5 separate regions of the Homo sapiens genome follow, and all the other regions are linked to region 4. Evidence: promoter capture Hi-C in 16 types of primary human blood cells and fetal thymus (Javierre and others, 2016). All regions are on one chromosome and are shown on one strand. Each heading gives the region's core, a stretch centred on a gene start or on the middle of the fragment in contact. The rest is flanking DNA. Distances are from core to core; before and after follow the strand shown.

The links. Contacts are between HindIII fragments. The CHiCAGO score rates a contact against its expected background, and 5 or more counts as called.
Region 1: a fragment that was not itself captured here is called in contact with the fragment with the promoter of SAMTOR in region 4 in 2 of 17 cell types (non-activated CD4 T cells and total CD4 T cells); the score reaches 5.5 in non-activated CD4 T cells.
Region 2: a contact is called between a fragment that was not itself captured here and the fragment with the promoter of SAMTOR in region 4, in 3 of 17 cell types (neutrophils, non-activated CD4 T cells and fetal thymus). The highest score is 7.5, in neutrophils.
Region 3: a fragment that was not itself captured here is called in contact with the fragment with the promoter of SAMTOR in region 4 in 1 of 17 cell types (monocytes); the score reaches 5.9 in monocytes.
Region 5: a contact is called between a fragment that was not itself captured here and the fragment with the promoter of SAMTOR in region 4, in 5 of 17 cell types (non-activated CD4 T cells, naive CD8 T cells, naive CD4 T cells and 2 more). The highest score is 8.5, in non-activated CD4 T cells.

Annotation. Positions count from the first base shown.
Region 1 is chr7:112,399,674-112,405,342 of GRCh38, forward strand. No RefSeq gene overlaps it. Among named protein-coding and RNA genes, the nearest start is that of IFRD1, 48 kb to the right of the region's middle. The HindIII fragment of the contact is 2,650 bases long and covers 478-3,127 here.
Region 2 is chr7:112,190,588-112,196,448 of GRCh38, forward strand. All of the region lies in intron 1 of DOCK4 (dedicator of cytokinesis 4), which reads right to left. Among named protein-coding and RNA genes, the nearest start is that of DOCK4, 13 kb to the right of the region's middle. The HindIII fragment of the contact is 3,824 bases long and covers 1,966-5,789 here.
Region 3 is chr7:112,082,153-112,087,917 of GRCh38, forward strand. All of the region lies in intron 1 of DOCK4 (dedicator of cytokinesis 4), which reads right to left. Among named protein-coding and RNA genes, the nearest start is that of DOCK4, 120 kb to the right of the region's middle. RefSeq lists an enhancer at 2,337-2,436. The HindIII fragment of the contact is 1,646 bases long and covers 1,935-3,580 here.
Region 4 is chr7:112,938,488-112,944,634 of GRCh38, forward strand. SAMTOR (S-adenosylmethionine sensor upstream of mTORC1) reads right to left here and starts at 1,388. Exons shown (of 5, transcript NM_152556.3): 1 at 1,104-1,388. The coding sequence starts at 1,263. RefSeq lists a silencer at 1,217-1,316 and enhancers at 1,346-1,862, 1,517-1,856. The HindIII fragment of the contact is 2,363 bases long and covers 140-2,502 here.
Region 5 is chr7:112,212,234-112,218,069 of GRCh38, forward strand. All of the region lies in intron 1 of ZNF277 (zinc finger protein 277), which reads left to right. Among named protein-coding and RNA genes, the nearest start is that of ZNF277, 8.5 kb to the left of the region's middle. The HindIII fragment of the contact is 398 bases long and covers 3,010-3,407 here.

The DNA of each region.
Region 1 (5,669 bases), core at 553-3,052, 540 kb before region 4:
ATATAACCATATCTCCTGGTGAGCTTCTGAGATATAGCTTTGTTTCAGATGGCTGTGTGCCCAGCTTAAAAGCATGAGTTCTAATATAAAGGAAATAGGAGAGAATGGAAGTTGGGACACTGCTAGTGGTCTTTCCCCAAACACATTATTTTGTAATCTGTTTTCTTACTCATACAAACATTTTCTTTTTTTTCTCCCAACTAATTTTGATGACTCCTTGCTGGTCATAGTCAATCTGTAATATTCTTCCATGTGCACTATCTCTCCTAACCCAAAGCACCTAAGAAAAATATCAGATGATATCAAAGATCCCATACATGGCTAACACAGTTCAGGAGGATTCTTTAAGCCAACTTAGCTAATCCACAAATTTTACAACATTAGAGCCAAAAGGACCCATAAAGAACATCTAGTCCAAGGAATGGAGCAGCAACAGATCAAGGCTAGTATTTCAGCAAAGTGCAGCCTAGCTACAAAAGCTTGCCTCTTGCAGCTAGTCCTGACTCTCTGTGATTTAGAAATACTAGAGTATGTTTGATTCATAGGCACATTTTACATCCTGCTTTAGGCAGATATGAATGTGCACATGCTACCCCTGGCTACACATCAATTTCCAGACAGGAATAAACTACGTACTGCTTCTTTTTCTAGGAGGCGTATGATGCTGTGGTGAATGGGGCCATAAATTTCTGCAGGAGATGAACATTCCACAGTCAGGACTCATTACCATGTCATTGGACTGCCTTTTCCCTTAACAAATATGATCAGTTTTGTTTATGGTGTTGGTAGGAAAGGTAGCCATTGGCTCAGAGAATGTAGCTCATTAAGCCAGATTAAAGCAACTAAAAAAAATTTTCTTAAGCAGTGTGGAATAGAAACAATCTCAAATTCCAGCCTAGGGTAGGTTGGGAAGGCAGTAGGATAGTAGGATTTTTCTCATTATGATGGAATGATTTACTTTTTATGTAGGCATTTCACAGTTTAGGAGGTTAACAACTACTCTGAGGCAAATTGTTCTAGAGTTATCAAACTCTGTCCTATGTGCAAGGCAGAGTGTAGCATGGTGAAAGGGGCTTATAATAACAAGCACACAAGATTTTTGGAAAGAAATGAAACTATGAATGACAAATAGTATAATATTATAAACTTTAAACTGTCTACCAATGTTATTTTCATCATCATCTTCTTTGTCTCATGGCTTCAGCATAGATGTTATTTAGAGTTTTATATGTATATATAAAGAGTTATATATATATATAAAGAGTTATATATATATATATATATATAAAGAGTTATATATACATATTAGTCTGATATAATTATTAGGTCCCAGGGAGCCCTAGGTTATTAGTCCCCAAAGATCTATCTTAGCCAGATAGTCAAAGGGTTGTGTACAGCTCTTTCAGTGGGAGAATTAGTAAGTCATCATGTAATTCTAACATTTGTGTGGGCAGAAAGTTGTTTAACTTGAACCTGGTATCCACAATTAAAGATGCTACTCTGGAACACTTTTCAAAGAACCTAATAATTCTCCAAGATTACAAAATGGTAACAAGAGTTGGATACTGCAGGTGTTACTTTGGTTCCTGGTAAATCTAACCTCTGTGTCAGACCGTTCATTGGAGACAGTGGTTGAATAATTCATGGTGCCAGATTTTCAATCTCCATGTAATAGCTTGCCACATGTTGGTCTGTTGGCTGATCCGTAAAAATACATAGTGCACAAAGTAGCAAGTAGAATTATTTTCCCCTATATTATGTGGAAAGAGTCATCAATATTTTTTCATGAATAAGTATTTAAACTACTGAATAATAGCTATATTAGTTATGTATTGCTGTGTAATAAATTACCCTAACCCTTAGAGGCTTAAAATAATTCCTATGAATCAGGAATCCAAGCACAGCTCAGTTGAGTGCCTCTGGCTCAAAGTATCTCTCAAGGTTACAATCAAGCTATCAACTGGGGCTGTGGTCTTATCTAACAGCTCAACTGGTAGTGACATTGGGGTCTGCTCCGAAGATCACTCATGTGGTTGTTTGCAGCCCTCAATTTCTTGCCAGTTGGGTTTTTCCATAGGGCTGACCCATGACATGGCAGCTGACTTTCCATACACCCAGTGATAAGAGAGAAAAAGAGACAGAGAGAGAAAGAGAGAGGAGAAGGAGGAGAGGAGAGAAGTCAAATAGAAGCCAGTCTTTTTTATGACTTAATCTCAAAAGTGACATGTTATAATTTTTGCCATATTCTTTTTTTTTTTTGAGACTGAGTCTCGCTCTGTCACCCAGGCTGGAGTGCAGTGGCACAATCTTGGCTCACTACAGCCTCTGCCTCTGGGTTTCAAGCGATTCTCCTACTTCAGCCTCTGAGTAGCCATGATAACAGGCACATGCCACCATGCCCGGCTAATTTTTGTATTTTTAGTAGAGAAGGGGTTTCACCATGCCACCTGCTTCGGCCTCCCAAAGTGCTGGGATTACAGGCTTGAGCCACTGCAGCCAGCCTCTGCCATATTCTATTCATTAGAAGTGAGCCAATAAGTCCAGCCCACACTCAAAGAAGGTATTACAGAAGGGCATGAATATCAGGCAGCAAGGATCATTAGGAGTTATCATAAACACTTCTTACAACAATGGTATTGGAGTTTTATATTTTGGAAATGATCATTTGGCAGATGGTCTTGGTTATAATAAATTATTTTGTTTTTACATAGCAGCTAATATCAGATTGTTAACAAAGTGAGACCCTGTGAGTTTAGAAATTTGGTGATAATATCCTAGAAAATGCTTAGTATCAGGTCAGGCTTTATGACCTACTTGCAGGTACTGATCCTATAAAATCTACATACTATTTTCATAGGTTCAATGTATTTCATCTAGTAGACTCTCTTTCAGTGAATTAAATAGTAAACTAATTTCTGCTTCTCCGAATTCTTTAAACTAATGAACAGAAAGTCAATTTTACAGGTGAGAATTGAGTTTATTGTTTATTTGGCAAAATTGGGCTGTTATACATACCTTCTAAAATGTAAGAGATGTGTGTATGACTTTAATCTCTAGGAGTTTATATCAATTCATAGAAGATATGCTTTGCTAAAACCAATGAATATTATTTTCTTTATGCCTGTAAAGCTTCACTTAATATTTCTTTTATAAATTCACTGGCAATGAATTCTCTTAGCTTTTCATTATCTGATATTCTCTTTGGGTAAATGATTCTAGCTTGAAAGTTTATTCTGTCAGTACTCTAAAGATACTGTTCCAGCCTCTTCCAGCTTACATGATTTCTGGTTAGAAGTTTGCTGTCATTTTTATCTTTGTTCTTTGTACATAATGTTCTATAATTTGTCTTGGCATTATTTTCTGAATTTATGTTTTGCTTGGGGTTTGTGGAGATTCTGTGAGTTTACAGTTTTCATCAAATTCGGAAAAAATTTGATCATCGTATCATCAAATATCCCCGTATTTTTTCTAACATGTGTAATATAAGCCCCAGTTACACACATGCTAGAATCCCTAATATTGCTCACAGTCACTGATGCTGTGTGTATTTCTTAGTCTTTTTTCTCTCTGTGCTTCATGCATAGTTTTTCTTCTGGTTATAGATAATATTTTCCTGCTTCTTTGCATGCTAATAATTTATGATTGGGGCCGGGCGCGGTGGCTCACACCTGTAATCCCAGCACTTTGGGAGGCTGAGGCGGGTGGATCACAAGGTCAGGAAATCAAGACCATCCTGGCTAACACGGTGAAACCCCGTCTCTACTAAAAAATACAAAAAATTAGCTGGGCGTGGTGGTGGGTGCCGGTAGACCCAGCTACTTGGGAGGCTGAGGCAGGAGAATGGCATGAACTCGGGAGGCGGAGCTTGCAGTGAGCTGAGATCGTGCTACTGCACTCCAGCCTGGGCGACACAGCGAGACTCCATCTCAAAAAAAAAAAAAAAAAAAAAAAATTGATGATTGGATATTGAACATTTTTGAAGATCTGATTTTGCTGTATTCCTTTAAATAGTGTTACATTTTCTTCTGGCACATGGTAACTTAGAATCAATTGGATTCTTTCAAATCTTTCTTATAATCTTTGTTAGGGCAGGTCCAGAGCTGTATTCAGTCTAGGATAATTTAGCCCTCCAACTAAGGTGGAATACTTTTGAAGACTCTATCCAGTGCCCATGTCGTGCAGAACCTTTCCACTCAGGCTTGTGCAACACAAACCATTCTCAGCCCTGTGTGAGCTCTTGGAATTGTTAGGCCTTCTCATTTCCAGTGGTTCCTTTGCTGGCCTTGGGTAGTTTCCTTTCACACACATAGAGTAGTACTCAGCCAAATACTTGAGCATACTCCTCTGTAGCTTGCTTGTTCTCTTTCAGAAGCTCCCTCTTTTTTGGTAATTTGTCTTAAAAATTCTTCTTGCCTTGGACAATACCTGCTTTGCAACACAGCAAGACTTTTGGGGTCTGTTTGAGTTTCCCCTTTTTGTACTGCAGCCTAGAAACTGCCTCCAGTGAGTAAACTGGTGCAACTGTAGGGCTCCCTTTTTAGGGTTTTTTTTTTTTCTCTCAGAGAGCAAGGCCCTGCTGCCTGTTCTCCAATATGTAAAATTGTTTCATTTATTTTGTCCATTTTTTCCTAATTGTTTAAGGTGAGTGGGTAAATATGGTTTCTGTTACTCCATCTTGGCTGGTAGTGGACTTTTTATGATGAAATCAAAATAAATATAGAATTGTACTTTTAAGAACCTTTGTTGTGAGAATTTGAGTAGCAGAAATACTTAGAAAAGAGAAGATAAAATCAATTAACATGTTGAATGCTTCCTCTCAGATAACCTGAATGCAATAGATTATTGCACAATAAAATATTTTTCAGTAGTGCCAAGTGTCCATGTTCTTGCTTCTCCTCATGTTCCCATCTGTGGTTCCAGAGCACAGTATTCACAAAAATTGTATATGGTGGCCAAGGAATATTTTGTAGTATCAATTCATATTACTTAAAAAAACTTGTATATATGTAGGCCTGTTGTAACATGAGCAAAGTGCAATATGAATTCTTCACATTGTCAACTAAATGGAAACAGAATGCTAGAACATTGTACCAGTTTGGGTTTTCCAGAATGCACATGGCAAGACAGAGTCAGAACTGCAAGAGATTTCTTTGGGAAATGCTCATGAAAGATAAAGGGAGGAGGGAAGAGGAGTGGGCATGAGAAGCCTTCAGACCACAAGTGTCTGACACTTGTGAATGGAGAGAGGGAAGGAGGGGAATTGGGGTAGAGGACCCTCAGACTGCAACACATCTCTGAAAAAGTGTTGGCCAGCCCAGCAGGGAGCTCAGGCACAAAGACTGCCAGTAGAAGAGTCCTGTATTGAGCAGAAATGGCTCAGTTCTCTTACCTCTGCCTTGCAGCCTCCAATAGCTCCCTGGGAAGAGTTCAAGCCTCAGCTTGAACACACAGGTAAATCCTAAGGTCTCTGTAGCTCAAGACTGTAGATAGCTGCACACTTCATGGCCATTTTTCTCTTTGAAGGGGGCTCTGAGGGGCCCACCTTCATGGCTTGTAAAAATTGTGAGTAATTTTACTTTTATAAATATATTTAATGAGGTTTCATAATATTTTCAAAAAACTAAATTAAAACATCAAGTTGATTTACATAAGTTTGATTTAAAATTTGG
Region 2 (5,861 bases), core at 2,628-5,127, 750 kb before region 4:
CACGGGATGAGATTGCAGACAGGGGCCGATTTAGGAGGGAACTTGTGTACCATAAAATGACTTTGAACTCTATCCTGACTGCAAAAACAAAAAAAAAAAATTAAAGATTTTGTTTTTTACAAGTGAACTACATCAACAAATTTGCTTTATGAAAAAGGTCACTTGTGGCTTAAGTCCAAAGCATGTACTAGAGAAAGGAGAATGCAGAAAAGGAGAAAGATTAGAAGACTACAGCAGTAATTCAGACCAAAGAGGTACCTATTAAGCACACCAAGGAGCATACCAACTCCTTGGACAGGTAGGACAGGGCTTCTCTGAGCATAGATGAAGCAGAATGTGAAGCCCCAGGTCCCAGCAGAGCAAGGGCTTCCAGTATCAGAACCACAAGCCTCAGAGCTCAGGGTTTCTCTTGCTCCTCCAATGAATGGGAATCCTCCCTTTTTTCTAGCCCCCTACCTTCTAGGCATCCCTGTTACTGCAGGTTTCTTGTTTTGTTTAGTTTATTTGTTTGAGGCAGGGCCTCATTATGTTGCCCAGGCTAGAGTGCAGTAGCTAGTCACAGGTGGGATCACAGCTCACTGCAGCCTCAAACTCCAGGGCTCAAGCAACCCTCCTGCCTCCGCCTCCCAAGTAGCTGGGACAAGTGTGAGCCATCACGCCAGCCATGAATTTTATTTTCACTCCAGGGTTCCTCCCTGCTTCTGGTCCATCCTCACTCAAAGACGCACACATTTATTCCCTTCACGTCACTCAGCACTGTTTGGTCCTTGGCTCCCATTTCCCTATTTCTCCCCACCCCTCTAGTACCCATCCCCATCTCCTGAGGCACCTAGTGGCTCCTCTGTCACCACTGTGCCCCACACCCCCACCCACCAGCAGTCAGCATACTGACTGACCATCACTACCACAGACCAATGCTAGAGTAAAAAGACAACGTGGGGACTTATTTCACATAATACTGGTATTAACACTAGTATCTTATTTAAAAAATAAAGTATAGTGAGCAATTTCTTCAGCACTGCCCATAGAACCCCAAAGCCTGGGGCTGTGCCTCCAGATTCTGGCCCTAAGTCGTATGTACAAAGGTGTGATACCATGAAGGGACCACATGCTTCAGGCTGGGACAGATGAGTGCCTGAATCTCAGCCCTTCACAGGTGGGTCCCCTGCAACAAATTACTGGCCCTCTCTAGGTCTGCTGTAAGGCTGGAGTATGTGCACAGGGCCAATCACACAGGCCCAGCCCTTGGTAAGCATTCATCCTAAAGCTGGGTTTTCCTCTGCCTGCCCACTCTTATTTTTCTGTAATTTAAATATGGATATGTTTAAATTATATACTATATAACATTACATACTATATATACTTATATAATATATATTATAATTATATATAAGTATACTTAAATATTATATATTATATAGTATATAACTTAAACATAGTATAATTTAAATATAGTATATATACAGTGTTTGTGCTTGTGTGTGTGTATATATATAGTGTGCATTTATATATAATTATATACTATAGTTTCTATTTATCCTTCCCAAAATCTCTTGAAGGAGAAGAATCGATCCTAAATCCATCTTTCTTCCTCTGCCCAGTCTTAGAAGGAATCACACACAAAAAAAGATAAACCATTTTCCAAGATACTTAACATCGGTCAGGTGACAGGAATAAGAGGGGACAAGGGGGAGGGGAGGGGGAGGAGGTGGAAATTACCCAAAAGGAAGAGGAAGAAGGTTTTCCAGATATTTAAAATGTGATTCCACTCAGCTGTTTATCTTGGGCGATCTTAGCAGCCGGTGACTCACTCCTATGGGAAGTATCTCAATATGAAACTTCTATTCTTTTGTAGAAGTTCTGAGTCTTCCAGGATATGAGACACTCTTTCCTCCTCAGGGCTGTTTCTTCAGGTGCACAAGTGAATAATATCATCACCATCCCAAGTCCTTATCTTCATTTTAAAGCTTGAAGGGGAAATATCTGTCTTAACTTTCACACTGATTTATCTGTGATACTTTATGTACTCCCTTACTGTGTATTTAAAAACAAAATCAGGGTAACATCTATCTTGAAGAAATGTTGTTCAAAGTAAATGAGATAAAACTATGAAACATTTCTAGCTCCTTCACTTGTCCAGTCATCCAGTTCTATATCTCTTTGGATGCTTATCAAGCTAGCATATTGCCTTATACATCATAGGCATATACCATAAATAATCATCCAACAGAAGTTTTTCTACCAACATGTCGTAAAATATGCCCTTATGCTTGTCACTAAGAAAAAAAAATGCAACAAGTAAATCTTTAGAGGAAGGTACTAGCTACTCTCAGGAAACACATACTTAAGGATAGTAGAAAAAGAAAAGAAATTCCTCCAAATATTGCTTCATTCTCTTCAGGGACCTGATATTCAACAGCCAGGACTTTCAAAAACAAAGTACTCCTAACCCAATGCCCCAACCAAAGTTTCATATAATAAAACTTCCATCTACTTTTTAAAAATGCTAACCTATATGATTAAACCTGTCACCCTAGGTTTTTATAAAAAACTGTAGCAAAAAGAAATGAAGCATCTGAAGACTCTACCTCTTTTGGTTGCTTTGAAGGCACCCAAAGTGATGTGACAACTCAAGACAATGTGAGCAACTTTGCAAAAATGCCATTATTCAAATAAACAGATACCTGGAGTTACTAGTCGATATCTACCATCAAAAAATCTAACTCAAATGGGTGCAGTCGTTTATACTTGTAATCCTAGCACTTTGAGAGGCTAAGGCAGGAGGATCACTTGAGCCCAGGAGTTCAAGACCAGCCTGAGCAAAATAGTGAGACCCTGTTTCTACAAAAAATGAAAATAAAAATAGCCAGGTGTGGTGGTGCATGCCTATAGTCCCAACTACTGAGAAGGCTGAGGCAGGAGGATCACTTCAGCCTGAGAGATCAAGGCTGCAGTGAGCCATGATCACACCACTGCATTCCAGCCTGAGCGACAGAGCCAGACCATGCCTTAAAAAAAAAAAAAAAAAATTCTAGCTCAATTAAGTCTGTGCCTCCAGAGGTGGGCCTGCAGAGTCAGATCTCAAATCACAGAGAGAGCCAACACTAACTACATTGATTACACTGAGGTTGAGGATCCTGCTTCTACTTTTTTTATATCCCTCTTCCTACAATCCCTAAAATGTCTTTAACCCTTCTGCTTGGGCTGCCATATAAAGTACCACAGGCTCGGTGTTCTAAAGCATGGAAGTCCCAAATCAAGGTTTGGCAGGACTAGTTCCTGGTGAGGACTCTCTTCCTGGCTTGCAGACTGCCACCTTCTTGCTGCACCCTCACATGGCCCTTTCTCATGCTACCTATGAAGAGAGCATGTGAGCTCTCCAGGATCTCTTCTTATAAAGACACAAATCCTGTCAGATCAGGGCCCCACCCTTATGACCTCATTTAATCTTAGTAACCTCCTTACTCCATATATATCCATATTGGGAGTTAGGGCTTCAACATATGAATTTTGAAGGAATACAAACATTCAGTTTATAGCACCCATAAATAAGCAATTATTCCTATTATTCTGTAATTGCTAAATAAAACCTCTTCAAATTGTTGACTCTCTATGTTGAAAGGTCTGTCCTGCACAAATTATCCCTGGGTCCATAGTCCAACAGGACAGAGTTTATAGAACAAAGGAAAAGTGAGCAGTGACACCAACATCAGTCTTCTAAGCAAACATTTCATGGAGAGAGCAGAATTTTTACCTTAGGTGAATTCATCTGAAGCTGTTTCAACAAATTAAAAGAGCAATTAGAGCTCCCTTTCAAAGGCTTAGACCCCACAGCTATATGAAAACACATCTTCACTGTGGATACTGGAAAATGAACACAGCAGTGACATCACAGGCAGTCAAACTCATATAACAAGGAAAGCTACTTTAAAATTTTGAAACACAGTACTTTCTGCACATAAATGACAAACTAAATTCAGGCTGTCCAGACTCAACTTCTACCAGTCCAACCTCTAATCCTGAAAGGAAACCTCACAAAGGAAATAATGTTTGGCTTATAGAAGAACTTACATAATGATTTTCTGATTATAAAAGAAATGTATGCTAATTTAAGAAATTACTAGAAAGTATGAAATTAAAAATAAGCCATCTCCTCAATTATAATAATTGGTTGTAAGAACATTACAGGTAATGTGTATGCCAATTCTTCACCTCTGATAAGTATTTTCCCATTTTAAAACTCATTACAATAATTTCTACATAGTGTATACATGATATTGCCTAACCTGGGGCAAAGAACATAAATATTTAGTCTTCTGAATCAATTTCTATAACTATGGATGAGAGTATTAATGGAGATTTTACATACAATTAATACAAATATAGTTCTCCTAAAAAAACAAACTGGAGGCTGGGCGCAGTGGCTCACGCATGTAATTCCATCCCTTTGGGAGGCCAAGGTGGGCAGATCACCTGAGGTCAGGAGTTCGAGACCAGCCTGGTCAACATGGTGAAACCCCATCTCTACTAAAAATACAAAACTTTGCTGGGCACAGTGGTGGGCACCTATAATCCCAGCTACTCGGGAGGCTGAGACAGGAGAATCACCTGAACCTGGGAAGCAGAGGTTGTAGTGAGCCAAAATTGTGCCACTGCACTCCAGCCTGGGCAACAGAATGAGACTCCATCTCAAAAAATAAACAAACTAGCAAACAAACTGGAGAAGGGGCAAACCTTTACTATGTGTGCAATTTTTTAGGAATCCTCAGATCTTAATGTTTTTCATCCAGACTACTGGAGAAAACCTCAGAGGTTTCTTCTCTCTTCATTCTTTATAGAACTGCCTGTTGATGTTTTGGGTTTTCGTATTTCTTTGAGACCCTGGCTAACCCCTGAGCCTGTTATCAAGGCAGCTTTACAAGCTCCTCAACCAACTTTGGCTACCAGAGGAGAATGGAGAACAGGTTCTCTCCTCTCCCCACAAAGTGAATAATGTTTCATCCAGGATCTCGGTTGGGGCTATTTTCGGTTGCCTTATGTACATGCATCCCCACGTTCCCAAACCTGCCTACTTCTGGTTGCCAACAACGGATGAGATTATTCCATTTTGGAGAAAAAAAAAAATAAGACATAGAACCAAATCTCCACGTTTCTGCTTAAAGACTTCAGGGAGAAATTTTTGGTTAATGTCCAATTGATAGTCTAATAAACAGCAAATTTCTTGGTTTAGGAAAATGTTTCACAACTTGGGAGATAAGTTGTTAGCAAATTCAACCAGGAAAACTTACAAATTTCATATCCAGAAGGGTTCTCACCAACCACCCTCCCACGAGGGGGCACAAATGGGGGAGGAGAACAAATACACATGTGTTAGTAGTTTCCAAAAGCCTCCCATGTAAATGTCATGCTCTCCCCTCTTCCTCACTCTCCCGTTTTCTTGAGAAACAGCCATGTTTTCGTTCATTGCTAAGTGACAGATGCCTGTCCAGATTTAGTTGCCTTCCCGCTTCCATAGAGATGCAAATGTGATCACTGATTAAGGCAACCTGGATCTCGAACCTCTCTACAACGCGAAGGACTGAGCTAAAAATAAAGGTATGGGTTCAATTCCACTTTCAGATCTGCGTTCAAGGCTAGTTGATGTGTACAGCTCCAAGCCAGGTTCCCAGTTGTAAGTTATTATATACCATGTACCACGGTTTTAGGGCAATTCAGATGAAATCATCTCTTATCCCCCTACCTCCTTCTCTGTCACCAATACCCTGCCAGAAAAACTACACTATCCAGTAAGCTTTGTTATTGCAATACTTTCAAAGCAACTACAAAATCACTGTCCTTATGAAGACCACAGTACACTTCTC
Region 3 (5,765 bases), core at 1,508-4,007, 850 kb before region 4:
CAGTAGTAATGAAATATTGAACCTGAAAAACTTTTTAAAAATTTGTGTCATGACTGGAGAGGAAATCTATGTTAATGCAATCATGCTTAGTGAAATCTCAAATACACAGTTAACCCTGAGAGTCTCATACATTATTGTAATGTCAGTAGAGGAAACAACAGCCATCACCATGCCCCCATTTGTGGGTCTGAACAATTAGCAGCAAGCCAGGTAGGAAGTTGGTAATTTCACAGGAAAGCCAGAGAAAAAAAGGAAGAATGGCTAGAAATAGCGGGGGTGGTTGCTGTGGTACAAAATCTACCTTCCCTACTCCTTTACTGGGGGATAATAGGATTGGCAACCCATAGGCACGCTGGGATTTCCCAGCAAATCAAATAAATTTCGTAATTGTTGTTCGCTACAAAATTATTTTTCTCTTCCTGTAAGAAACCGGAAAAGCCTACAGAGAATGTATTGTTAATATTAAACCCTCGACTAAAGGAGATGTAGAGGTATTTATGGATAGTAGTCAACTCACTCTCTCTCCTCAGATTACATTACACTTAACGATTTAAGGCTTATAGTTTACTATATAGAAAAAGAGAAAGGAGAGAGAAATACTAATCACCACAGTACTTGCTGAGACATTTTATATCAGAAACAACTGAGATTGGTAGTGCTATTCATGTATCTGAAAAATATATAATTTTTTAAACTTGGTAAAATCCTACCCATATGACTTAGCTAGAAATAAATTTTAAATTAAAGTATCATTTATTCTAGAATGTATTTAAATAAAAACCACTTTATTACTTTTAATGTATTATGGAGATGGTCAATTTAAAGTCCACTGGGTCTACTTTTTGAATAGATTAAGCACACTTGAAATTAGCACTAATTATAATTAGCATTAATTGTAGCCCCAAATAAATATTCTAATTTTAATAATGTACTTCTTTTCAGAGGGTTCACAACATAAATTTTATAAATAATCCCTTTATCCATAAATTGCACTAAGGTAAAGTAAATTTCAATGTAGTTTAGGCAGATTAATTATGAATTAGGAATCAGTAGAATTTTTTATTAATATGATCTTAACATAGTTGAAAATAATTTTATTTGATATGTGAATACCATCACAATTGCCTCAGGCTCTCACATCTATCATCTCCATTGGTTTTACATAAAAGTACCTAGAGATTAGGTAATTTTCCCCTAGTTGTTCTGTGAGTTGGTTATAGATATAAGATTAGAATATAAAATATAGAATTAATAGTATAACGTATGACCCAGTTACTATAACATAATGAATTAACCTCTGTTTCCTAGAAGTTTTTATCTTTACATGTTGAGCTTAACCCCTCATACCCAGAAGTCAAATTTCTGGCAACATCTCTAATTCTTTTTGGAACAAAATGATTAAGGTAAATAAAATAAAATAAAATAAAAGGCCACCAAACATCCAAAATAGCTATGAAAACAAAGCTTCACTCCCCAGAAGGCCTTAAAATCTTCATGTAGAATTTATCTTTACCTGAACACAATTTTTAAAAGACATGGTTTTCCGTGGCACAGAATGAACAAGATGAAAAGTCAGAACTGATGGCAGGGATATTAAAGATATGAATAATAACTACATATAGTATGGAACCTTGTTAGAGGATCATACCAAAGGCTTAGTTTAGTACGGTAAATTAGATTGGTATTTGGCAAATAATCACTTTTCCCTAACCACCTCATGGAATAAGTATACTTCCCTGCTCTGCTGTTAGGCTTAGTGATTGACTTACTTTGACCAACGGAATGGAATCAGATGTGATTCCAGTTGACAGCTGAAGTGCGCTTGCACAGTTGGGCTAACACTCTTGTACTCCTACCACGACCATAGGAATAGCTTCGCTGGTTTGCTTCCTTCAGACTGGGCCCTCAAAATAAACATTTCTGGAACAGACCTAAGCTTAATCCACAGTGAGGACCTAAACCCAGACAGGCCTGCAGCATGAAGTAGAGTCATGCCGTCAGGCCTGGCCCAGAACATGCCCAGCCAATCTCTATCACAGAGAGTGAGAATGAATGAAAATTAGTTTAAGCCACTGAGTTGTGGAATTGATTTTTATGGAGCAACAGCTGACTGATGCAATCATAAAGAAAAAGTGAAAAGATGTTTAAATTGCTTCCGCTTAAAACCATTACATTTCAGTACAATTTATATCAGCAGCTACTAAAATATTTGAATGTTTAGTGTTTGAATTTCAGCTGACTAGAAAATTTCATTTATACAGAGAGCATCCCAAAGCCACTACTTAGCAGCATGATACATGGATCTTAGAAGTTGTGTGTCCAGCAAAAGGGAATGAGCATTTTCTTTAAATAAAGTCTGCTTAGCTTTGCTGAACAGTTCTACCAGACCCTCAGTTAATATACTTTCATCTGAGGTTTCATGCTGCTGACTAGCAATAAGAAACAGTCACATGATGCTTGGGCTGAGAAAATGTTTCAGTTCCCACAAATAGAGCAATGCAGGAAATTTCAAGACATGCATAATGAAAACGAAAGAAAATCCTTGTTTTCTTAGAAAATCTCCCTTCATGTTTGTACAGAGTGAAGTAACAGATATCCAGATTTAATGCCAAATCACAGTGACATGACTTGTTACCATTGTTATGCTACCATTACAAGGCACTTCCCGTGTGACCGGCTTTCTGCTGGGTGTTTTCACCATTATCACTTCAAGTTAACCACACAACTATTCCAAAAGGAAGGTATTATTACCATGTATGTGTACTTTAGAAAATGAAAAAACTAAAACATACAGAACATAAGTTACTTGGCCAAGTTGTATGGCTTGGAAGTGGTCAAGCAGGAATTTGGAGCGAGGGCTGTCTGACTTCAGAACAGTGCTCTTACTATATCCCATTCTATGAGAAAATTGTTCTAGTATATTCACTTCAACATCAGAAACTGCCACACAGATCATATCACAAAGCCATCTTCTAATCTTTTCTCCTCAAAATGAAGAGATTTAACATGGTAACATTTGGCAAAGAACTTCATAGCTTCCCCTCAGTCCCACAATATTTGCTTGAATCAAAGGGTCAGGATGCTCAAGAGAGCAATTTCAAATTATCTTTCATAAACCAGTAAACAAGATTAGAGATTTTAAATCCATAGCCCATCAAAAACTGATTTGGCTGTGTCAAAAAGAAACAGAGGTCAAAGTGACCTAAGATAGGGCAATTTAAGAGGAAAAAAATGCACTAGATTGAAAGACATCTAATATATAAAAACTCATGAGTTCATAATGATACTAATGAGAAAATTTCAATGATTCATTACTGCCGGTTGCCAGGGTACAAATTTATGATTCCAAAAAGTTATAAATAAGGAGAAAGTATCAAGCATTTATCTTACCTTTCCTGTAAAAAGTGTATTTCAAGGTAATCAAGTAGCAGATGGGTAGAAGTTCTTTATGGAAGAATTCACCCAATAAATGTACAAGAAATGACAGAATCACAATGAGAAAACTAAGATTTTCCTAATTCCTAAGATAAATAATGGATCTTGACAGTGATCATCAATGGATGCTAAATCCATCAGGGAAAGCTTGATAGAGAACTTTCAAATGGGATCGGGCTGACAGCATTTGAACTTGCTGATCTAGGTATCTTCAGCAGTGTCCCTGGAAGAGGCACAGGCAGACAACAAGTCTCTCTTGCAGAAAAAAAGACACAGCCCCAGCTATGAGACATTTTTGCCAAAAAAAGCAAATAAACAGACCAGAGTCTAATCAAGTCTCTGGAGCTAACAAGTACATCCTTGAAACATTGTAATATGGGCTGGCTGTATAGGATATTAATTCTTGAAATGATTACTCCTTATGTTACATGTCATGACAATTTGGTTAAAAAAATCCTCGGAAATGTATACTGGAGTATTTTGAGGTAATATAACACCATATTTAGGATTTGCTTAAATGTACTACAGGAAAAAGAAAGATCAGACATGGATAAGATTGGCAAAATGTGGATAATTTTTGAAGTTCAAAAAATACATGAATATATAGTACGTTATCTTTGTACACCTTTGTGTACAAATTTCCACAATAAATAAGGCAGAAAGGGAAATCCAGAAAAACTAGCTCACCACAGTTCATGCCCATTTAAATATAGGGACCATAAGTCGTGCACCAGTTAACGTCTGTGTCTGTCTGTTCTCTCTTTCTTCTCTTTATTCTTTAGAATTATAGTTTCTATATTAAATAGCTAAGTTTGGGAAAGGTTTTGTTTTCTTAACAGGAGAGTCAATGAAACAGAAAACGTTTTAAAATCAGAACCGAGAGCACCAAAATTCATTAACTCAATAAATACTTATTAAGTACCTACCTTCTCCTTACTGTCAAAACTCAAAGCTGTGGCAATACAGCAGTGTATGAGACACAGGTTCCTCCTGTTAAAACAGTGGTTGCCAAAAATCTAGCAAATGTTGGTTTCCCATTAGGATCAGAAGTAAGGATGTGGTAACAGAGGCAATTTCCAAAATCAACTCGGGCATGTAAAATGTCAATAAAACCCAACTCTGAAGTCACATCTAACCGATTCTGACAGAGTTTTACGCTGAGCCAAGGCCATCCTGCCCAAGCACACTAAATGTTGACTCTGAAGCACATGTAGGGGAATTAAACAGTAACCAAGGATTGGAAGGGAATTTTGTCACAGTTTACACAGTCAGTAGCACCAGGATAGAAAAGCAAAGGCACCTAGGAGAATTGGAAAATTCTGTCACTACCAGCACCCCCACCACCCCTGAAAAAACAAATCAGAAAAAGACAGGATTTTAATGAATAACCTTGCATGCTGAACCCTGGGTAAGAAGGAAGAAAAGACAGAAAAACTGAGATAACCCTCAGGAGTCTCAGAGTTCTATATTTTGTGGTGCAGACAGGGCAGCTCACCAGGCTAGGGCTGTGGTGAGCTATTTCCTTTTTTAACATTCCAAGATGCCAATATAGATGATGTCCTTCTCCAGGTACCCATTTCTCTTTTCAACACCTGTAGTTCTTGATTAATTAATTCAATCAGGACAGACTTATGTATTAACTGTACACTTTCTTGACAACCCCTTCTGACACTCAGGTGCCTAATGTAGGCCATCTCTTCTTCAGCTGCTAGGTAATACATACCCCTGTTTTTATGGAATCAATATAACATAAGGATTCCCTGGCCAAACTTGAAAATTATCTTTAGATTTAGATTTGTTCTGTTTTGAAAGACACGTATGGAAATGCTTATTTGCACACAAATAGACATCCTCATAAAACTGCCCAAATTCACTGAAGACGCCTATATAAACATGATAGTCTTCAGATTCAATAATGACAAAGCAAAATATCCTGCAGCTCTGGAATGTACCCTTAAAGTATAAAGTGTCAAAAACAAATAATAAAATGTCTAGGAAAAAAATGAGAGATTTAAGCTTTGAATTTTTTCCTTGAAGAAAAGAAAAAAAGATATCGTTATCTAAAATACTATGTACCCTGAGACAAAACTGTCAGACAGCTTCATTTTGGGTTATCTCCTAAATAGAGTCTCACTTTTCCCTAAGCCTTTCTCTCCAGTCCCACTCAGAAATGGGTATCTAACTCCTGAGACCTAGACCATCATATTAACATTGTATTGGGACCATTTGTCAATTATGGGACAAAGGAGACACATCGTGAATGAAATACAGCCCTGTTTAGACATCTCTAACAGATCCATGGAGTGGCATGCAGGTGGGAGATTTGTAAT
Region 4 (6,147 bases), core at 138-2,637:
AACATGATCTTACCTGTCTGTATTCCTTCACTGCCATAATTTTCCTTCTAATCCTAAATTATTAACTAAGTATAGGACTAACACCAGAAGGCTGCTGACTTTTCAGTTTGCAATTAAGCTAAAATGAGAACCAGTGGAAAGCTTTCCTCATTTCGATACTCAGGAGAAGTCTCTCTCCCAAGCCTATGAAAACAGAATTTTCACTGTCAAAATCTTATAAAACAGCTGTGTACAAAAGCCTATATTTAAAGATATCAAGGATAACTGTAGACTCCAACTATAAACACTCTTCAGGCACAGGCAAAAGCCACTAAGGCTTCTTCCCCTATGAGCTTCCACAGAGGGGGTTCTCACCGGAACCCCATCCATGGAAGCCGAGGGTGGGCTTTATCGGCAGGTGTCTTTAGGAGGCTTCCAATACAAACGGTATTTTCAGAACCTGCCCAGATCTCTTCCTCATCGCCTAAATAAACAGTTAAGACCAAGTATTTAAGAAATGGGAGTGGGGGCCACGAGTGTAGCCCGCCCCCTTTTAACAATGTGAAGTCCAGTCAGCTAAAAGGCCTGCTGGCTTCCCAGCCCTGGAAGCCAATGCGAGGAAGGCTCGGCATGGTTGTAGGAATGAAGTACTAGGAAGGGGGTCTGATAAGGAAGCAAATGGTACAGCCGGTAGGTCAAGCGTAAAGGAGGGACAACTCAGGTTTCTTTTCGTCTTTTACAAATGGATTTTACCTGTCTTGTTTTACCTCGGCGTCTCTTGCAAAAAGCGACCCCCACCTCCTCTGTGAGCGTGTATGTGTTTGTGTGTGCCGAGACAACAACCTCAGCACCCCGGCTGGGGACAGGGGCTTGGAGGGGGTGGGGACTCAATTCCTTTACAGGCCTAGAACTCTCCCGAAGGGCCCTCAAAGAAAAGGGGGCGGGGAGGAGCGCGTCTGATGCCGACTAGGGGGCTCAGACCAGGCCCGGGAGAGCAGCAGCGGCTGGGGGGACGTGCAGATCCTTTACATTTTAATGGTGGCCTCTTTGGAGGAGGGAAGAGGTGACAAGCGGTTGGGGGTGATGAGGCCTCCCCTTCCTCCCTCACTCAGCGCGCTGTTTACCTTCTCGGTACTTCTTGCGGAGCCGCCGGTGGACGCTCTTCACCACACCGGAGAGCTTCTCCTGCTCCAGTTTCCGCTCCTGCTCCCGGGGCGGCGGAGTGTTCGGGGACCCGGCCCTCTGCGCACGAGCAGTATTTCGGCCGCCGGCCCCTGGCTCCATATCGCAGCCGCCGCCGCCGCCGCCGCCCCTCAGGCCCCCGCAGACGCTCCCCAGATGGAGGAGGTGGGGTAGGAGGAGGGAGCTGCGGAGGCAGCAGCCAGAGGAGGCAGAGGAACCGGAGCGACAGCCTTGGAGGTGGACCCTCACCCAAAAGTGCAAACTGATTGGTGGATTTTGAGGGCTGGGCGGAAACGGAAAAGGCTAAGGGCCAATGGGCAGAAAGCGCCGGCGGCGAACCCGGTTGTTTGGGAAGGCGAGCAGCTGGAGGAGGCGGAGCTTGCGGGGATAGGGAGGCTGAGGCAGTGGGAGCTCCAGGCCTGGGTGCTCATCTCTTCCCCACCCTCCCCGGATTCTGTGCGCAGGCGCTGTGGCTCGGCCTCGGGAGACGAGCTGTGAGCAACGCGCTTGCGCGTCTCAGTTTGCTTAGTTTGGGCTTTTTTACAGCTCGGCTTTCTGATGTCTTCCATCATTTTCATCCCCTACACTTTATAATCTGTTGCGATGCGGCCAGGGTGCTCTGCTTGAACCTCCGCTGCACCTTGTCACATGTAGGTTCCCTTTAGTTACTTGCGCTTTGAGATGACGTTACACTTCAGGGACCTCAAGCACACAAGCATTCTAAGGCTCAAGGAGAGGTCTGGCTACCAAATGCTAATTTAATTCTCAGGTCGACAATGGTTTATGCCTGCAGTACTACTGCTGGGCAAAGGACATAGAAAATGCGAAAAGGAGAGGGCCAAGAAAAGCAACAGGAGATGCAGGAGGACAATAAGGAACGATGGAAAACTCACAGCAGATGCCCTCAAGAACTTTTGTAGTGACCACGGTGTTAATAAGCAGCCTTCCCTGATCTTATTCGCATCAGCACTCTGAGCTTTTATGGTCAGCTCAGGTGACCTCCTGTCCTTTAATTTGGAGAGTTAGTCTATGCGGAGTGTATCTAAGTGGGTTTGGTAACCTGTTCACCCTCCTCCACTTCTTTTCCATCTCTTGGGGAACGCGATTGTTGACTTCTGTCCCAGAAAGGTGGAACACTGCTCTCTGGAGAGAGGTAGACTGCATTGGCTCCTGAAGTGGTACTGAGGCTGCTGGAGTGTCAGAGATTGAATAGACTGAGAGCCCCTAATGAGTTGTGTTGGATTGTGTACCACTTCCCCATTGCAGGTGTTGGTTACGTGACAGTCTATGGAAATGATTGCAATGGTAACATTTTGATAATGATTTTCTAACTACGAATAAAGCTTGCATTATGTAACTGTTTTATATGCTACCTTCTTTATATTGAATACGCTGAAGAGCAAAGAATTATACACACTGTCTAGGACACAGGAGAAGCGGGAGGTGAAGGGAGATTGATGGAATTTAAAGGCGGAAGATGTGTCCCTACAGCACAGTGAAGAGACAGATCAAACACAAAGACAAGGACATATAAACTTCAAAAGAACTCCTTATAATTATGAAGAGAAGTTAAGCGGAAGTGCCTAATAAATTGAAAATATGGTGGTCTTATTTGGGGGAATTTCATTTGGGAAGAAAGGGGAGCTTGAATTACATGTCTCTTTTGGCTCTTTCCATATTTTAATACATATGGAAGGCAAATAATGGTGCAGATATTCGAAAGATACAATGATAGTAAAAAGAGCATTAAATTTCACTTGTGCTGAACTGTAGTTTTATTTTTTAAAAAAGAACTTTTCAGCATAATACTAGCAAATGAACTTTTAAGGCCTCTTAACTGAAGATGTTCACTGAAGGAAATTTGGAAAATACAGAAAAGAGTAAAGAAAATAAGACATCTGGACTGAGAGATAACAACTTAACATTTTTTCTTTGTTTGTATATACTAATTTCAAATAGGATATTTCTTGATGCCTATGTGGCAATCTATTGTATGAATAGCCTACTATTTCATTAACCAATTCCCAGTTATTGTAGATTTATGTTTTTTCCAGCTTTTTTGTATTACAGATAATGTCATGACAAACACATTTGCACACAAGTATTTGTCCATTTCTTTAATTATACATTCCATCAGGCTAAATTCCTAAAAGTTCAATTTCTGAAGCAAAGGGTCAAACATGTTAGGGTTTTGATGTATATTATGAAATTGCCTTTTCTGAAAGATAGTAGCAGTTTATGCCATGTCCACTAGTACCTATGGGTGTTTATTTCATTGCACCCTTACCAAAGGTAGGTATTACAATTTACAAAGTCATTAATGAGATTTTAAAAACATGTCTATTTTTTAAATAAATATGTGGAATTTCCTGCTGTTTCGTAACTAGCTATTCTTATTGGTATAATATTTAACTTAAAATACCAACGTAAGAATAAATAAAAGGAACTTATTTAAGACTATCTAGTTGTTGTTGTTCAAGCAGATTGAAGAGTCCTACCTTTTAAAATTACTTTTTGACTTCACACTTTCTTGAAAAGCAACCGAAGAAATAACAATTGGACAGCCAGATTTTATTTTAAAGAAAATGAAATCTTTTTATTTTCTTTAAATTTTTTATTTAAAAAATGTTTTATTTAAAATTTTCATTTAAAAAATTTTAAATTTTTTATTATAAAATAAAGATTTTATTTTAAAAATAAAAATAAGATTTATTTTATTTTATTTTATTTTATTTTATTTTATTTTATTTTGAGATGGAGTTTCACTCTTGTTGCCCAGGCTGGAGTGCAGTGGCGCATTCTCGGCTCACTGCAACCTCCGCCTCCTAGGTTCAAACGATTCTCCTGCCTCAGCCTCCCGAGTAGGTGGGATTACAGGCATGCGCCACCATGCCCGGCTAATTCTGTATTTATAGTAGAGACGGGGTTTCTCCATATTGGTCAGGCCAGTCTCAAACTCCCGACCTCAGGTGATCCACCCACCTTGGCCTCCCAAAGTGCTGGGATTACAGGCGTGAGCCACGGCGCCAGGCACAGATTTTATTTTAAAGATGCGTGAATTCAAATGAGGTATAGGCCAACATGTCCTGAGAAATATTTTAAGGTGATTTTTTTTCCACTGACTATCCACCACAGCACAAAAGGGAGTTTATAACTACTTTCCTCCTGTGTAGTTAGCAATATTACAAAAAGCTTTCTATCTGTTAAGGTTGCTGAGGAGTCATAATGGAATTCTCCATTTAAGTGAAACAACAGTCCTAATTGCTGATAAAATGGATTCACTGAAGGAAGCAGGCTTGGTGCCATATTCAATGAGCATATCCTATGCCCAGGAAAATGTCAGCAACTTTCCCCACTTTGTGGTGACAGGTTTTTATTTACTGTAAATATCTTGTTTTAAAAAATTCTCTCATTATTTTAAATGCCTGTTAGGGAAAGAGGATGTTGGAATAAAACACTCTTCACTGAGCAGGACAAACCAGTCTGGGAAGTAGAGGCTTTTCTAATGACCGCTCTAAACCCCTGATAAGTAAATTTCTCATCCTCATTCTTTGCCTTACCTAACCAGCTTCTGTACCTAATTCCTTACACATTAGGTAGGTCAAGTAAGCTTCCTTTGTTCAAGAACCACTCAGTACAGAAAAAATGTTTTTGGTGAGAAAAATACCTTGTCATCTTTGTTTACAGTTATATTCTTTATAAGTAACACAAATTCCTACAAAGGGTGTAAAGAGTCAACATATTGCAGTAATAAAATATGTTCTATTCCCAGTGTGAGTTTGAAAAAATTAATGGGTGATGAAAAGTCAACTTAAAAATCCATATCAAAATCTGGGATGAGGCACTGAGGTAACCCGTAGATTCTGGGTGTGCTTTGTAAAAGTGTTGTACATTTCATTCTGACCCTCTTGAGTGTTGCTGTAGAAGAGAGAAGACTACATAATAGAAGTTGGGGTTCTTGGCCAAATTTGGTGGCTCACACTTGTAATCCAGGCACTTTGGGAGGCTGAGGTGGGAGGATCACTTGAGACCAGAAGGTCGAGGCTGCAGTGAGCCATGATTGTGCCGCTGTACTCCAGCCTGGGTGACAGAGTGGGACCCTGTCTCAAACAAAAAAAAGAAAGAAAGAAAAAAAAGAAATTGGGCTTCTTTGAATAATCTAAGGCATTATTTATTTTTATTCTTCAGTGACTTGGTATTATCTACTTTGCTTTGGCCCTCTTTATTATAAAAATCATAAAAGCAATTAGACTTTAATGTTGCATAATAAAAGTATTAATATTAAACTTCTGTTTCTAAAACATAAAAATGTTAAAACAACAGTGTATGTCAATTGTGCAAAAAGACTTGATCAGCTTTATTATTGAAGATACAGCTGTATTCCAAGCTGGACAAATCTTTGGTTCATGACTATTTAGAAATAGAATCTTTAGGAATTCAATTAAAATGAGGACTGGAAAAGTAAAATCTATGTCATTTTGAAAATATTTACCACTGTTTCCAAAATTCTTACCCATGAATATAAAAATATCCATGAAGTTTAAATGATTTTTTGTATTCAGAATTTTAAAAAGTAGATGTATCTTTAGTTGAGCACATTATAGAGAAATTGTTAAGCCTTTTGTTTTTCATATTTTATTTCAAATCATAGAAACTTTCTTTGGAAAATTCCGTATTTAATGTTTTGATAGAGACAAACAGTGGAGAACTAACAAGAAAAATATTTTTAGTGATATATTTCTATTCAATATGGCAGATTACAACTTAAAAATCCTTCTATTGATTAAAAATTAAAAGGGTTATTTTCTTTAAAAATTTATGTCTTTAACTACTATTTCAATGACTTCCCTGCAATTCATAATTTAACTGCGAACATTAAAAGTATTCAAAATAACACATAGATTTGTTATCTTTCAAAAGTTAATAGACTGGTGTTAACCAAGTGACAATCATTAATTAATGCTTACCTCAAAATACAATTATAAA
Region 5 (5,836 bases), core at 1,959-4,458, 720 kb before region 4:
CATGGACCTTGAATTCTGTCTTTCATCATCTATATGGCTGTTACCAATTTTCTACAGGCTGTCATTCTATTTCTATAAACCATTAAGTCCAGTCTCATATATTTGACATGGCAATGGAAAGAGGACTAGACCTTATTTTGACAAAACGGTATTTAAATTCCAATTCTGACATTTAAAAGCTGTGTAACATAGGTTTATTATATGTGCTGCCACATTTATGAAAATATCCGTATAATACCTGTCTTGCAGTTATTGTGATTATTTCATATTTATATATTTATGAAAGCCTAGCATATTTCCTGTTATAAAGTCAGACCTCAGTAAGTATTAGTTGCTTTCATTATAAAGATAGGCCCAATTATAAAGATCTGCCTGCTCTATCAAGAACTGCCTGCTCTTTGATACTGTATTCACTTAGGAAGCAATCTAAATTGTGGAGTAACCCTGGGGAAGCTTAGGAATGTGTTGGTGATAACTGCTTATGCTGTCAATGCTTTCCTGGAATTTGGGAGTTGTCAGAGTGTCTGTTGGTGCTACATACTAGTATTACAACTATGTGCTCTGCAAGCCTTTATATTATCTTCTGTATCCTCTCTCACTTCTATACAGTGCTACTCTACTCACACCCAGCTCCCCACCCGCACACACACACATTGACACTCAAAGTCATCAAGAAACTCAAGTAACATTGTATACTGGGGTTGCCTCACAAGGTATAGGCCGTGGGATGTCAGAGAAGATAAGAATTATAGAAACTACTCTTGTAGGTCTTGTTTGGTGACATGGTTTGGCTGTGTCCCCACCCAAATCTCATCTTGAATTCCCATGTGTTGTGGGAGGGACCTGGTGGGAGATAATTGAATCATAGGGGCAGGTCTTTCCTGTGCTGTTCTCATGATAGTGAATAAGTCTCATGAGATCTGATGGTTTTAAAAAGAAGAGTTTTCCTGCACAAGCTCTCTCTTTGCTGCCATCCATGTGAGACGTGACTTGCTCTTCCTTGCCTTCCACCATGATTGTGAGGCTTCCCCAGCCATGTGAAACTCTAAGTCCAATTAAAACCTCTTTCTTTTGTAAATTGCCCAGTCTCGGGTATGTCTTTATCAGCAGCATGAAAATGGACTAATACATTTTGTATAAGGTTCTGAAGAGGCCTTATTTAAAGCATTCTTTTATTTTCCTATGACAAATCAATGGGACCCAACTTGTAGGATATTTAGAGAAGAGCTCTTATTAAAAGGGATATAATAATGATGATGTGTATGATAGCTAACATTTTTTTGAGCACTAACTGTGCCAGATACTGTTTCAAATGCTTTTATAGGTATTATCTCATTTCATCTTCATAGCAACCCCTAGGTAGTCATATTACGCTTTTTATGTACAAATGAGGAAACTGATGAAAAGAGTAGCTTGCCCAAAGTCACACAATAACTGAGAAAAGACTTTTATCCTATGCACGGTTGTAATGATGTCTCATAGTAACTAAATTCCATTGAATGAGGTCTGAAACAGACTTTTCTTACACATAAATATGCTCTAAAGCCAATGTTACCATAGAAAGGCAGTATGGAATAGTGAAAAGATTTTAAAATCAGGCCAGCTTAGGATCAGATTCTGGTAAACCTCTGAACTTCAGTTTCTCTTCTGTAAAATGAGTAATACTGTATCTATATTGCTGGGATGTGGAAATGATTAGGTGAGATGATATAATAGTCTGGTCTTCAATTGTGACTGTTATTTCAGTCATAGGTATAGGCACATCTTTGGCATATGTGCCAGAAGTGATACAAGTGGTTTTAATATGTCTTCTGCACTTGAAGAGCAGGTTATTATTGAGGGATTTGATGGGTCAGATACCGAATTACATACACTTATTGTGTTGACCTTGACCTTCCCATTCATGCAAAAGAATAGTGCTGCCCTTTACAATACACACTCATACACTTCCATCTGGAAAAACTGTAAAGAGGATGTCGATCAGATTCATATAATAGAAATCATACTCTCTTCTAAATATAAATCACGAGTATATAGAAACAAGCAATGTGCATAAACTGCTGTCTCCAGTGATTAAATCTTCAAATGTTTCTATTAGCTCTTCTTAGAGAACTTTGCCACAAAATTAGGGTTCAGTTTTGACTTATTTGATAAACTTATCAGACTCTGAATGAGTTGGCTTTTCATTGACAGTACCTTAAAGACTTGCCACCTCATGCTGAAACAAGTATGTTCTACTGACCTACTTGACCCAAAGGTGAGCAGGGCAGCTTTTTTCAGAAGTGGTGATAGATTTGACTGATCAGTCTTCTGTTTTTCTTTACTTCTCACTGATCATCTTTGTAACTAGTGGCATTTATTTGCAACATAGGCAGCTGGGGTTGAATGATATCTTTGGCTATAGGAACCAAGTAAAGTTTTCTAGAGCTAAACAGGATTTAAACCTTTGCTTCATGGGGTGAAGGGAGGTTGGGAAAGAGGGAGTCAACAATTGACAAGTGGTAAAATATTTAAAATTTTATAGGATAATGTGGGATAGTATTAAGCTTTCTCCATGAGTAGCATATTTAAAATAATCAATGTACAGTATTGAATCAGTAAAATATGTAGAAGGAAAAACTGGAATAGGAGTCAGAAGACCTGGATTCTGAATCTGAATTTGTAGCTTTTTAGCAGTGTGAACTTGGGGAAAATCGTTTAACCTCTCTGAGCCTCAGTTTCATCAGGAAAAAAAAAATGATGTTGATATTATTGGGAGGTGTGGTGAGGGCAGAGTATGTTAAAGCACTCTATGAATCTTGAGGCACTATGAAAATATAGGGACAAATGATGCTACTGATAAAAGTCTGTCTCAAGAGGCAGTAGCGAGTACAAGCCCAAGCTTTAGACTTGGATAAACTGGAATCAAAAGGAGCTGTCAGCTAAAAGCTGTATGACCTTCAGCAAGTAATAGGACCTCATTATTACTATTATGGCTGCTGCTGCTGCTACTGCTACTACTACTACAAAAGCTTGGATGTAACTTTAAAATGATTACAAACTAATCAAAGAACATTAAAGCTGGAATCAAGACAAATCCCACATTATACAATATATAAACTCTGTAAGGACAGGAACTGTTAAATATACCTTTAACCTCATCCTCTGGGACAGTGTCATGTTGTGATGGCATTTGGTGGTGTTTGGCAACTGTGAATCAGCGCCATGCTGGGCTCTATATGGGATACAAATGAAGAACCCCTAGCCTTATCCATGTGGACATCTCAGTGTAGTTGGTGGGCTCTGCATCCCTGTCTCACCGGAGCTAATAAGAGAGTCTCTTCTAGTTCCATATAGCACTGTGGGATGAAGTGGATACATTTGATTCTGTGATATGCATGCCTTGCCAGAGGCGCTGAGCATACTAAAGCTTTTACATGTGTTTATTTTTAAAAGAAAGGAAATTCTTGTTTTGCCTCCTTGTTTCTCTAATACTGTCCTCATTTCATGTTTTTTTCTTAACTGAAAGAACTCTCCCCTCCCTGCAAGTAATCACAGAGGCCCTGCCTTTAAAAAACTTTTTTTAGTGTTTTTATCCAAATAGAGAGGTTTGTTTTTTTACTAGTAAAGATCTCAGAATTGTAATCGTGGTTATTTAACACAGTCTTCTGTTATGTAATAAGCTGCTATTCACCAGTAATAGCCAATTAGAAAAGAAAATATCCTGTACCCGCTAATCGTAATTACCATTATAAAGCAATTAATAGCAGAAACTGTTGCTGAACTGTAACATAACATCAATCAAGCTGTCTTTGCCAAGGCACTGTACAACTAATTTTCTCAAATGAAGGAGGAGAAGGGAAGGAAAGGAAGGTGAGAGTCTGCGGGCTTATTTGAATTTCTTTCAAACCAGTTTATGAATGACTTTTGAATGCTCTTTAAATATGCATCCACTCACAAAGGTAAGTAATGCTAATAATGTACTGCGACATTGAGTTATTTTTCCAGCAGCAGTGATCATAGACAGTACAGCTTTGCAAAAAGCTCACTGGACAAGGAATCAGAAGAACTAGGTTTTTTTTGGTTTTGTTTGTTTTTGTTTGTTTTTTGTTTTTTAGACAGGGTCTCACTCTTTTGCCCAGGCTGGAGTGCAGTGGCATGATCTCAGCTCACTGCAACCTCTGCTTCCTGGGCTCAAGCCATCCTCCCACCTCAGCCTCCTGAGTAGCTGATACTACAGGTGTGTGCCACCATGCGCAGCTAAATTTTGTATTTTTTGTATAGATGAGGTTTCGCCATGTTGCCAAGGCTGGTCTCGAATTTCTGAGCTCAGTGATCCGCCCACCTCAGCCTCATAAAGCGCTAGGATTTTAATCCCACTTCTCCTTCCGACTGACTGTGATTTTAGAGAAGTCATTAGCACTCCTGGTTAAGATTTCCTGGTTTGTAAATGAGGGAGTGAGATTATGTTAGCATCCTTTCAACTCCATCTTCCAAATATCAGTAAAAGAAAGAGGAGGTAGGTTTACAGCTTGGGAGCCGACATAATTCAGTCCTAGCATCTGTAAAAAGAAAAAGAAAAATCTGGATATGGCCTGAAGAATTAGTTGCACATGTGTGTGTCATTGATCAGGTGTATCAGGTTAGAAAATTGGCTGAGAACCACTGCAGTAGATGTCTTCTGGGATCCTATACTCTGAGACAATATGGATTGATTATTAGGATGCATCCTATCTCACTCTCCTTTCCATTTGTAATAAACAGTGCAAAACTGAAAGAGCTACTGATAGAACTGAGGTTTCGTTCATTCAAAAATTTTATTTAGCATCTGCTATGTGCAAACTTCTTTATTCTGAATGCTGTAGAATACAAAGATGAGAATAACATTGGTCTTGCCATCAAGGATCTTATGACCTAATAGGGAGGATATAAGAAGTACATATTACAAGGTAGAAAGTGCTGGGGAACATTAGAGTGATATACATAGAGTTATGCAAAAAAGAGATTATTCCCAACAGGTGGTACTGGGCCTTGAAGTTTAATAATATTTGGACATGCAGAAACAAGGAAAAAGTGTTATAGGCCTACACAAAGGGAGGGAGCAATAGAAAAACTAAGGGCATATACAACAAGTATCAAGTCAATACATTTTGCCTAGAGAAAATGATAAGTAAATGGCAGCAATGGAAAAGAAGTCTGGAAATGTAAATTGAAAGTAGATCATACTGTCTCAGATCTTAGAACTTGATTATGCAGACTGAAACTGCCTTTGCAAAAATTATAGCAGAAAAGTATTGTAGTGAGAGACGTCTGACCTAACCGACTCCATCTTGCTTCTAACCTCCAAGCTGCCGGTGTTCATTCCTGGATATGGGCTGAACTAACTTTGGGAGGAGCTTAGTTCATAGTTTAACTTTGAAACAAAGAGATAACAGCCCTTTCCCAAAACAAACCCGCTTCTTGCCTGGCGAGTAGACTGCCTTTTGCAGGACTAACTAAATTAACCACCAGATTAAAAATTATGGTTTAGTAGTCATGCAGCTAGAGGCCACAAGGTTCTAAACCTCCTCAGTTGTTCCTAGGGATAACATCACTATTGTAAAACCTAAGATTAGTGTTTGAGATATTTTCCAGACCCTGCACTCAGTGGGTCAGCTGGTACCACCGTATCAATAAACTGGCTCATCCGGTCTTGTGGCCGCCACCCAGAAACTGACTTAGCGCAAGAAGACAAGTTCGACTCCCTACGATTTCATCTCTGACCTGACCAATCAGCTCTTACCACTTTCTGATTCCCTATCCACCAAATTATCCTTAAAAATTCCGATCCCCAAATTTGGGGAGATTGATTTGAGTA